Regions from separate parts of the Homo sapiens genome. Here region 1 is linked to region 2. The links are contacts of gene promoters, found by promoter capture Hi-C in human tissues and cell types (Jung and others, 2019). All regions are on one chromosome and are shown on one strand. Each heading gives the region's core, a stretch centred on a gene start or on the middle of the fragment in contact. The rest is flanking DNA. Distances are from core to core; before and after follow the strand shown. Region 1 overlaps CDH19 (cadherin 19). Region 2 holds the start of CDH19 (cadherin 19).

The links. The method cuts DNA at HindIII sites, captures the fragments that hold promoters and counts their contacts. A contact is called where the count stands out against the background at its distance.
Region 1: a fragment that was not itself captured here is called in contact with the fragment with the promoter of CDH19 in region 2 in 2 of the 25 tissues and cell types used here (hippocampus and pancreas).

Annotation. Positions count from the first base shown.
Region 1 is chr18:66,562,723-66,569,357 of GRCh38, forward strand. It overlaps CDH19 (cadherin 19), which reads right to left. Exons shown (of 12, transcript NM_021153.4): 3 at 5,694-5,988. Among named protein-coding and RNA genes, the nearest start is that of CDH19, 38 kb to the right of the region's middle. The HindIII fragment of the contact is 4,962 bases long and covers 946-5,907 here.
Region 2 is chr18:66,602,173-66,608,584 of GRCh38, forward strand. It overlaps CDH19 (cadherin 19), which reads right to left and starts at 1,918. Exons shown (of 12, transcript NM_021153.4): 1 at 1,782-1,918. The HindIII fragment of the contact is 13,282 bases long and covers 1-4,220 here.

The DNA.
Region 1 (6,635 bases), core at 2,177-4,676, 38 kb before region 2:
TAATAGTATCTTAACAGAAGATAATATATTTGTTGTGTGTGTGAAATGAAGCATTCTTGTAATGTTTAAAGGTGCTAACCTGTATAAAACTACATAGAAATTTTAAAGATTGAGAGCATTAATGAAAGCATCAATAATAATTTATCCAAACATCAGATGTATTCTGCCATCACTGAGTAAAACCTGAGGTAAAGGTAGTGTAACTCTGTCTCTGTTGAGTTATGTAAATTTTATTATTAACCAGGAGTTATGCAGAGGATGAAACTATTCTCATGCAGATGTTTAACATGGCTTACAACTTTATTAAATGATGTTCTTTCCTGTGTCACATAGAATGCTTTATCCACTGGTGATTATGGGAAGCATATAAACAAAAAATCATAAAAAGTGAAAAATTTTCCTATGCAGACTAATTTAGATATTATGTAAGCAATAGAGAAATTAGCAACCTGTGGCGAGGGCATTTTATAATTAAAGCTTACATTTATTATGGAATACTAAAGTACAGGTGCCACAGTATGCTATAGTGTTTGAATGCCAAGATTCCAGCTGTAGATTTCAAAATGACATTTACTTTAGAATGTTATATTTTATTCATTTTGAATTCAATAGTAAGGAGATTAACTGTTCTTTTCTTACAATGTAGATATAAATTTAATGGAAAAGCTATTTTTACATCCAGTTTTAGTACAAGTATACTTTGATTAATCTGAAACAAATTTATTGAGATGTTGGGTTGTATAATTGTCAACTTCAATGTTATACAGATCAAATAATATTATAGTGATCCACACTCTGCATATGTAATTTCTGCAACAATAAAACAGGATTAAGATGAATGAGGTGATCAAATGATCAAATACATGACATAAGAGTTGTATAGGTATATCTGCTCACTCCTTCACATTGGGAACTTATTTTATTAGTACAAGGATAATTATTTTTCTACCAGTACTGACTGACCCATTCTTGCTGCATTTATACTTGAGCTGCAATTACTCTACAACCTAAAGTCTCGAAGTGAAACTCAGGAAACAGATAATATTTTCTCACTTGTCATCTTAACTGGGCAAAGTGTTCTTCAAATTTTTTATTTTTCTGTCCATAGTCACCTAAAAACTAGGTCATTTTTATTATTTTTGTGCTGCATTTTTGACACCTCTACTTTTTATAATCTGAGATAATGGAATTTAAGTAAAACAAATTAGACTGTGTTTAATAAATCAAACAATATTATATTTAGAAGAATAAGAAGAGAAATTCATCCCAGTCTCAGTCATGTTCAACTCATGTTCCCAAAGGCAAGAGATTTATAGAATCTAATTCACAAATGTGATAAATTTTGAAAATTCATGATTTTTTATTTTCCTGAGTATTAACTGAAATTAAATTTGTATAGATTTTCCATACAAAGCTTAAGGTGAATTTAATATTTCTATAAAAGCTCTCCTTTATGACATATTGTACCATATTGTTGATGAAGAATATTAAATTTTCTATATGCTTTTCCAAAAAATGCAACTTAAAATATTGCATAATAATTACAGAGATCATTATAACATATTATATTTGAATTTAAAATCTGAAATGCCAAAATAAGCTTCCTTAAATAGTAAGGTAAACAGAGTCTTACTCACTAGTTATCCCCATTCATTTTCAAAAGCATCTGGTTTTGAAAATAAAAGGAAATGGTTATTGCAAGTGGAAGGAATGTTGGACACTTGATAATATTAAAAATGATGCCCTCAGTGACTACAGATATGAAAAATTTGGTGGAGGATATTTATTTGGAAAAGCTCCAAAGAGAGTGGATAGTCTTTTTACTAGACAATATATTCTCCTTGCTTTTATTAGGCAGAAATATGTGAAACTAAATTTTAAGGAAGTCAGATTTTAAATTTTCCTTTTGCATTTGCACATACACAGACATATAAACAAAGTCTATTAACACTAATGATCATTCATAATGTGTACAATATCAATATCTATTTATTATGGTTGTTTTCCACGTAATGTGACTGGCTAAAGCATGTTTCACTTTTAGCAGGATTTTGTGCTGATTTGCAGAAGATAAGTTACCCGACTCTGCTTTGGTTTAATTGCTTATTAAGTAGTATACTACACGTATTTTAAATGCCCCTTCTTTTTTTTTTTTTTGACATTATAAGGTTTTAGGTAAAACTAGCAAATATTACTGAAATGGAAGATTACATATTTGATAGGCTGGCTATTCAGATACAATTTCAGAATGATTTCCATGAATTTCACATCTCCCGAAATCTTCTATTTATATCCTAAACTATTCTAATCACTTATTTAGCATTTTTTTGTCCACCCATGTACTCACTCATTTATTTATTCAATCCTTCCAAATCTCAGTCACTCTATGACTTGTGGTCTAATAAATCTTATATTTTTGGATGGCAGAAAAATAGTAACTTTGCAAATCCAAAGTGACAATTGGGAAAGCATAATGTTTTATCTCAACTCTACTTGAAAGTTCTAGTTTGAAGTTAATTTCATTTCAAACATAAATGCAGTCAGTAAAAGCCCATCATTACTTGTAAAGAAATGTGTGTTTAATAAGCAACAAGTTAATAATTTTCTTGATTTTATCTCATGACATAATGAAATATGGATTCCCTTCAGTAATTCAAACCAAATTCTGAGTTCAAGTGCAGATTCAAATATAATAATAGGCAGTTCACTTCAATACAACAGAAATATATGTAAGAAAAAGAAACAGCAAAATGTTTGCAATAGTTGTTTTTGAAGAATAAAGTAGCTGGCTAGGAAATTTGGAAGTAAGGTCAATATTCAAAAACTTAAATGGCCGTGGATATAGAAAGATAATGAAGAATTGAAGTTATATTTAGGTAATAAAACCCGCAGTATTCATTAATTTAATACTGAGATTGAGGAAAAAAGATAAATCACATATAATTTTATTAATTGATTTATTTACTTCACAGTCAACACAAATGCAGGAATGCTTCAGAAGGAAACCGTTGCTAGAAGTTTGGCAAAGCAATAGAAATATTCCCCTATTTCCATATTATATAACACTTCTAATAGCAACTGACCATCACTCAGCTGGCCTCTCCCTCTCATGGAAAGGTTACACAAAGTGCTCATTAGTTCTTGCATGATTTCATACAAAGCCTGGACCCTAACTGGCACTCACACAGTATGTATTGATTACACAAATTGAAAAGATAATTTGTACCTCTATCTCAAATTGCAATGCACAAAGAGATTTGTGCTTGCTAGATATTGCACAGACCAAACCATCTTTTGCAATCTCTCTGAACATCTACAGTGGGGCTGCACTGATACCATGATACCAATAATTCTCTCATGGGTTCACTACCCAACTCTGTAAAATGGCAGTATTGTACCTCCTCTTCTCTAAAATTTTACCCATGCTCTCTCAATTACTGCCTTCGCATTATGCTTCACTGACAAAATAGAAACGTTTATTAACTGATTGGTTATGAACAAATATGTTAACATATAATCTGTCCCTTCTATAAGTACAATGGATTCCATGACCCTTTCTTTTTTTTTTTTTTTTTCAAGAACAGTGTTTTAGAAGTTATGTCCTTTTACTTTGCTTCAAATAATATTATTCTCTGGAATCATTCCCCATAGTATATAACAGTGCTGTTCAATTTCCTTTCTTAAAAAACAATTGAATAGTCATAAACAAGCAAAAAGTCCTCTTGACCTTCATCTTTTTCTACCTAGCATCTCACATTTCATTTTCTCCCTGTGGCGTAACACCTTTTAGACTTGGCTTAAATCATTATTACTTCCTCTTATTCTTCCTTTTATGCCATACAATAGTCTTCAGTGTGCTGTAATAGCACAAATTAAACTGTTGTACTTATCAAAAAACCAGGGGTCTTCAACTTACCAAATCAAAAGTCACCACTCTGTCTTAATCTTAGCCTCACAGCAGCATTACACACGGTTGAGGGATTTCTTCTTTTGGAACATCTTTTCTCATATTTTTCCCTTCTTCCTACAACGCTTGCCAATCCCACTCATTCTAATTTGCCAGCCGACTGCTTTTTGCTTAACAGTCAAGTCAGCCTGGATGCTTTTCTCTTCTCCAGCTACGTTCTCTGCCAAAGGGATCTCATTCATTGCCATGCCTGACATACGTGTTATATGTTGATGACTTCCATATTGATGTATACAGCCCTGAGCACTCTGCTATGGATTCTTTTTTCCTAGAATGTGGTATGGATGGCCTCTTTGTATAATTCACCTCAAATATCACCTCCTAAAATGTCCCGTTTCCTCCAGACAATTAATAATCATCATACCTCACCCATACATAACACTTTTATACTATACATGATCATATATTACCTCCTTTAATTAAAATAACTATTTCTTATTTGTATATAACTAAAATGTGTTTCATATTAGCAGGTAACTCCTTTATCTCCTTTACAATTTTATCTATAGTTTCAAAGGAAGATTCCTAGCATGTTACATCATAATATATGCAAGAAGAAGAAGAAGCAGTGGCAGAGGAAGAAAAGCAAGAAGCAGAGGGAGGAAGGAGGAAGAGAGGGAATAAGGAGACAGAGGGGAGGGCAGTAAGGGAAAGGAGTAGAAGGTGGAGAAGGGGGAGGAGGAGAGGGAGGGATGAGGAAGGTGAACTGTTTCTTTGCCTACCTACCAAAATAGAGTAATTTAAAGTGCTATTTACATCTCATAATAATTTGTCTTGATATATATTACACAGGCAAATTTGTTTCTGCTGTATTTAAAGACCTATGTTCCAAACAATGTAGAAATACATCTTTAAATTCCTACCTGGAATGTTAAAAATCAAGAATCAGAAAATTATATGATGAAATATGTATTTTTGGAATCATTGGCTAATGAATCAAGTAATGAGGTAAAGTAGTTATAAGCATGTTACCGTAATTTAAAATGGCCATTATCAAGTCACATTTATTTGTCACTGTTAAGTAAATTTTTGAATTAAACTTTCCAGTATATTGTGCTACAAAAATTTTTTGAGTGAATAACTGAGAGAAGTTGTGCATAATCACAATTTCCCCTTTACTGGAAAGACATTTCTAATTTCCAAGACAGTCAATTCTTATATCTTATGGAAACCATTCTCTCCTAAATGCATTATATTTAAAATATTAACAACAACAACACTGGGTTTTGAAAAGTATCTTTGAATAAACACAGCCACACACAGGTGTTCAACCACTTAGTTTTGTCTTAGTGGTTTTTTCTTCATGATTTTGATGTATACAATAGAGTCTAATAAATTCACTTTTCCTATTTTTATGCATATCTTGCAGGATTATCTTATTTGCTTTTATGAGATACAAAAATATATTTTGTTTTGAAAAAGAAATTCTTGTACTTAAGAACCTAGTAAATGAACAAGGTCTAAAAACTTACGAATTGCTCAAATAAACATATCTAAACTTCTTTTATTCCTGTGAAGGCTGAGATATTTTAATAACATTAATATGTAGTACCCTTTTCTCAAAATTTTGATGCATAGTCTAATTTTTCAAATATTTTACTTAAACATATTTGTAGAAGGAAGTTCTAGTATAGACCCTTAAATCATCTACTTCCAAAACATATCCTTCAAATTTTAAACCTGCTTCATTGTTAATATATCTTTGATGTAAATTAATATGCAATACCTTCTGGAGACATCTCTGGTACAATGGCCTCATAAGGTTCATCTAGGAATTTTGGTTCATTGTCATTGATATCCGAAACTTTGATGACAAACTCAGACTCAGGTTCCACAGCCCTTCCAGTAGCGATGTCTATTACCTGGGCTCTTAAGATGTAGAGGGATCGCTCCTCTCTATCAAGCTTCTGTATGGCATATATGTCACCTGTTCTTTCATCAATGATAAAAGTACTTCCAGCTCCAGCTCCCAAAAGCTTGTACTGGAAAGAATTGTTTCCATTGTCTAAATCAGATCTTAGCTGCAAATGGAAAGAGGGATCATTTAGTTTCCAAACATCTGAAATGGACAAATCAAAATCAAGATTTTCTTTTTATGTATGTTAATTATTCCCCAAGTTAATGATTTTATATTATTTCCACATTACATTAAATGAGGCAAAATATTAATATCAAGATTAAAATCTATCACCAGGGAGAAGGAAGAGTGAATATTTAGTGTAAAGAACTATACACATTTCATTATTCTAAACAGAAACAAAAATAATTGGATAATAAAGCTTCTTTTGTAAGTTATGCACAACATAGTTGGTTCAGTTTTTATTTATAATTAAATTCTCAGTCACTAAAACTATACTCTCAAATATTTATACTAGATTGGGTCCTTGAGATAGATAGAAAGACAATTTAGTGACATTTAAACACTGATGTTCTATCTCTTGCATGAATATACATGGAAACAAGAAAATATTAGGATGAAAATTAGGGTTCATAAAGATAATGATAATCTTGACTGTTCATTAGGTATTTATTACATGTCATAAAATCTATAAATTGCTTTATATTAGTGTTCTCAAGTAATTCTCATATCAATATTATGAAATACATATTATTGATATGATCAATTTTTCTATAGAGAAGAAAAGTGAGATTTTGTTTTACAAACTTT
Region 2 (6,412 bases), core at 668-3,167:
TTTTAAACAGTTTAACACATTTATTCCTAATGCATTACTACTCACTAACATGCTGAATACTGCTATGTAATGTTTTAAACATAACATATATTTAAGAGTACATGCTAAGATCATGAGTGGCAAAAATGATCAGTTGATATTTAGTTATAGATGATATGTATCAGATTATATGTAGCTGTATTAGGAGAAATTCCTGAAAGATGGATCTGGTTTCTTAATAATGCATAGGAGGCATCTGTGCACATCATTTTAAAGCATCTTCAATTTATGATAATTTAATCAAAAATTTTTTTATGTTTCTTGAGGAAATGTACCTTACAAACATTCCTAAGTGAAAAACAAAACAAAACAAAAAATATAAGTAGAAGACATATGCTTTTCGATATATGCAGATGTGTCTGTGTGTGCCTAAAATTATAAATATTTCACTGGAGCCTAAGTAAAGAATTTACTAATGTGTAAGACTGTAAAAATCAGATATTTATATAATGATATGAGCATTTCGTTCACTGTTATAAAGGCTTGGTAAAGTGGAAAACATATGTAAAGGAAAGGAGATCTGGTGGTTTCTAAATGACATAAATTGATTGTTTAAAAATTTTGAATAATTGCAGACAATAATGAAATGCTTATTCCTTTTAAAAATAAATTGTTAGTTATTTTATTTGGTCAATATAAATGTTCACATTACATTGAAATTTAAATTCTTTGAAATCAAAAATTATAGTAAGTAGGCATACTGCTGATAATTACAATATTAAGAATTTGAAAAAAGAATATATTAATGCATATAATTTTACTTAATATTGTAACTACATCTAAAACATAAATATATATTACTAAATTTTCAAATATTTTATCTAAATAATGTCTTTCTTACAGATATATTAATTCAACAAATGAATTAATAGAGCTAAAATATAAATTGACATAATCTAAAGAAAACCTTTGCCACTCTATTTAGGTATTTTTTGTTGCTAAATATTTTATGTTTTTATATTTAATAGATTTATTAAATCCCTTTGGTAAACTTATTTTGAAATATTTTATTATAATTAGTTATTCAATTAAAATTGCATGTACCAAATTAGAATTGAAACAATATAAAATGTCTTTTACAGTATGCATTTTCCTAATTTATACTTTTCTTAATTTATACTTTCATATTTGAGAAATTACCTTTTGTGTTATGTATAAATGTTATAATACATATAGGTAAATTAATATGCCTGTACAATTTTAGGCATATATGTGTTTTTATTCATAGCAATGCTAATATTTTAATTTTTTTGGAATTATAATATACTTAAAATTTTTCATATTTATTCTGTATATATTTTTTCTCATATACTTAATGATGACAACTCTATTGTTCATATTACCTGATATACATGGTAAATACATGATAAATAAAAAATAAAACCCTGAACAAAGAAAAAAGTGCAAAGAAAGACATGCAAAGAAAGGTTGATTCATTTATTCTAAGAAACTTGAGAAGTTTTAAATATCCTAACATAGGTGTAACTTCCCCCCAACACCAACAATCTGTATTACAGAGATGGAGAACTGTTCTCACAAATACGTGTTTTGAGAAAGTTCAGTACAAGTACACATCATGGTTTTAAAATTTTTAGAATATTTTCCTTATTTCCTATGTAAATATTTTCCTTAATATTTTTAGAATATTTTCCTAGCAACATTTTGTCATGTACTTTTTGACCTATTGACTCATTAAAGATGATGCATGTAGTTTATAATATGCCTGATTATCACAGTCTTACCTTTGTAACTTCAACTTCTAGAAGTTCTGTGAAAACTGAACAGCAAACTTCGTGTTGGACACATAAGGAAGAGTAGGAAAAACTTTCTTCTTTTTGCTTCACAGTCTTCTCAGCAAACTCTCGATGTGCCCCATTGCCCAGAGTTACAGACGCTTGTGCTTTTAGTACCACAACACTGTCAGTATGTCACTGCTTACTCAATGCTATTTTGGGTTCTCTGAGTAGAGTCATAAACACTGAGCCTTTTGTGCAAAATATCATAAGGGCACTCTGACGCTCGTTCATAGTCTGGAATTAAAATGCAGACAGCTACGCAAGTAGTATGAGCTGATTATCTTTGTTTTTTTTTTTTTTCCCCTAACAACAAGCAAAAACAAAATAAAGTACTTATTGGCCTGAGTTGATAAAGGGAGAATTCAACTTACATACAAGAATTTTGCAAGTAGAGCGGACGTGCCCTCTGTTTGGGGATTAGCTGATGAAACAAATGATCAATTTAAAGCAGACCCAAAACTTACTGAAAAGAGAAATGATTTTCCACTGTGTGTCTATGCCTCATGGCTGTTTCTTAATTCGGTCATTTCTCCTCAGAAATCAAGTAAAGACATAATGAGAGAGAAATGTCTAAACTTTAATAAGTCCTTTTCTTTTCCTTGGTTTATTATTATGTAAAATCTTTTATTTTATTCATGGTTATAATTAGATTTTGATATAAGCTATTATTATTTAACATAAAATACATATGTATTTTCTATGCTGTTTACTCAAGCTGTTATTTACTTAAAAACCATTTTTGAACCAAACTAGAGAAACATTAAAATATTAAAAGTTTCTTAAATTATACCTATATAATAAGAAAGTCTATGTGGGGCAGGATTATTCAAGCATCCTGTTAATTCTGATAGATATTTTGGTCACTATCCTCTTAGCTTTTGAGGAAAGAAATGGCAAAAGCTATATGGGCAGTAAAGTAGGACACTCAAGCACACACATATACACACATGCACATGTGCACACATGCATACACATACATGTGCACACACATACATATGCACACACACGCACAAATGCACATCCTATGAGGTTGTGAATATTAGGAGGAATCAATAATTTATGAACAAATCTTGAAGAGATGAACCTGGGAGAATAGATCTGTGGATAGCAGGAACAGTATAATGTGGAAATATTTTATTTTTTCAGGTAGAAAAAAGCATTCAGCTAGAAAAAAACACTTCTAAGTGTTTCAAGATGTTAGTAAATAGGGAAAAAATAAATTTTACAAAGAACCTCTGAAGTATTCTTATACATTTCCCCCTTCATATTTTTTACAGTATCAAAAAAGGTGGAGATACCTGTTTAAAATATTTATTTACATAATTCACTGTTCTGTCTATGACCTAGTCTAGGATTTCTGTAAGAATCTAACATTTTATGAGATGCCAATTTATATCTTGATGTTTATAAAATATCCAGTTGCACTTAGGATTGAAACCACAGTTTAGAGCCTCAGTGTACCTGTAAACATGATGTCCCAAAGGCTTATTTTAGAGCCTAAGGGAGCAAAGGTGGGTCACAATTTGCTGCCCTGATTATTACAGTACCAATAAAGAGCAATGGCAACTATAGAAACCACAGTGAGACAGGATTAAATTTTCTAAAGAAGGTACAGTGTGAAACTACATGTTTTATGTAGAATATCATTAACAGCAAACTGATTTTATTAAATAGATAATCTATTATCAAACACGTACAGGAACTAGTTGCTGTAAATTGCTTAAGAAATGCATGCCCTTTCTGGAAGAGGATATAAGATGAACAGCCGATAGCCAAGGATCCAGCAAGATTCATCCGCTATGCCACAACCAAGAATGAAGACTTGGAAGTACTTAGGGGACTGGTCATCAGATAAGCTTAGTGATTACTTCTTTTTTTTTTTTTTTTTTTTTGAGATGGAATCTCTCTCTGTCGCCCAGGCTGGAGTGCAGTGGCGCAATCTCGGCTCACTGCAAGCTCCACCTCCCGGGTTCACGCCATTCTCCTGCCTCAGCCTCCCGAGTAGCTGGGACTACAGGCGCCCGCCACCACGCCCTGCTAATTTTTTTGTATTTTTAGTAGAGACGGGGTTTCACCATGTTAGCCAGGATGGTCTCGATCTCCTGACTCGTGATCCGCCCGCCTTGGCCTCCCAAAGTGCTGGGATTACAGGCTTGAGCCACCGTACCCGGCCCAGCTTAATGATTACTTCTACGTCATTTTCTTTATAACAAGAGAAATATATCTGACTAATTTTTCATATATGGGGGGGTAATACATAGTAAATGGAACATGACTGTGTAAGAACAGAAGCTCAAAATTAAATACACTACTATCCATATGTAAGTCAGAGTTATCATACTCAGAGTTATCTGAGGTCCCCACAGCAGTAAACATGTGGCAGGATGGACAATTCCCGAAACACAAGTGATGTTTTATAGCTGCACAGTGACATTCTGGTCTATTTTCACATGCAGTCTGGGGGAATTTCACAGTTATCACCTGCCAGCAGGCTAAGGAACAGAGCTTGAAGTTGCAGAAGCCAGGATTGTATTGAGTTACTCTAAATAAAAATTTGAATTCAAGTATTATAATTCAGAGCCACCAATTTTTTAAACCAGATAATTAAGAAATATATATCTAATGACTAACCGCAGACAAGACTGGCTAATGAAGTTTGAATTTAACTGAACAGGCAGAAATGGAAAGTCAAACATTATGCAAGCTCTGATCTGTCCCTTGAAAATAGACATTTAACCAGAAAGTTTAAGTCTACCTACTTTATATCATAGGCTATACATGTGCCTTCAATTAGAAATTTAGGCCTTGTCCAATCAGGTGTTGTCAGGATAGCATAATCTAAGGACCACATCCTTCTCACATGGTCTGGAAGCATTTTAGTTCTTAAAAATATATTTAAGTTGTTTTGGGAAAAGCTTATAATATGTTAATACAAGAACATTTAAAACAGATATTTACTGTATGCTATCACTATATCAATGAGAAATCTATTGACTAGCAAGCAGATAGCAAAATCAAACAAAATCAAATCCAAAAATGAATAGAATAATGAAGAAATTCAATGTATACATAGAGAAATAAAGTAGGGTTAAGGGTTAGTTGATCCAGTGGCTTCCTACTGCAATCAGTTATCTAGGTTCTTGGGCTCTGTTTGGTTCTCCAACTTTTCCTCAAGGCCCTCAAAAACACTGTCACTTTCGTCTTATTCATCAAAATGATCACTTGTCCATGCATGAACAAAGAATGGCAACAAGAAAAGCTTAAAGTAATTGTCATTCCTGAACCTGAGAGAAAGAGTTAGTTGATAGAAAAACAGATTCATTTCCCCAAATTAGAGTGGAGTGGTTGAATCTAGTTGATAACCAACTAGACGTCCAGTGTTCACTTCAGATATTCATGTAAAATAGCTTTTAAAATGCTGAAAATAAAAATAATAATTTTCTCCATGGATTGCCATTAAATGGCATTCTTTTCCAACAGTCCAATTTGCTGTGTTTTCCATTCTGTTTTTAACATTGAATATATATCACAATGATAAATATGGGGAAATAAAAAAATGCACAATGATAGAACAAACAATAAACAAAATATTCACTAATCTATATACTTCTAACCATGCTAAAATACTTTGTATCAAAATTACACAAATTTTGCTCAGAGTAAAGAAATATTGTCTTGAATATGGCAACAATTTGTATGGTTTGAAGATTTATCTTTTAAATTCTAGTTACAGTAGCCACTTGTCTAATATAATAAAAAATTTTATTGTCATATATATGTCCTTATTTTCTTATTTTTGTATTCATTCTTTTTTCTTTTTCTTTTTATATTTAATTAATTAATTAATTCATTTATTTATTTGTTTGTTTGTTTTTTGAGACGGAGTCTTGCTCGGTCACCCTGGCTGGAGTGCAGTGGGGCGATCTCGGCTCACTGCAAGCTCCGCCTCTTGGGTTCAAGCCATTCTCCTGCCTCAGCCTCCCTAATAGCTGGGAGTACAGGCACCTGCCACCATGCCCGGCTAATTTTTTGTATTTTTAGTAGAGGCGGGGTTTCACCGTGTTAGCCAGGATGGTCTCGATCTCCTGACCTCGTGATCTGCCCGCCTCGGCCTCCCAAAGTTGTTTTGTTTTTATTTTCTTTTGTAAGAAGACTTTTCTCTGGAGCAGTATATTTAAGAAATATATATATGTATGTATATTTGCCAAGCCGCAACATAATCTCCATGACGGAAGAAATCCATTATAGTAATTAACAATGAATAAATGTATAAATAACAAAAAAGGCTCATTACAAGAATAATTTAGTAATTGTCAATATGCAAACAAACAACCCAAAATACTTAAATTCAGACATAAACGTGTAGAGGTATGTCAGCCTTGTTTTCTGTTTATATTACCAGAATTTATTAGAAACATCTCACCTAGGCACCAACCTCTTTGAAACGGTAGATTAACTTTTACTTTTTCTTTCACCAGGACAATATTAATATGAACATTTAATTTCTGGAAGAGTTTCCATGTTTTTATAAAATTTTGGTTACTTCTTAAATTTATAGATCATGCACATCAGCATTA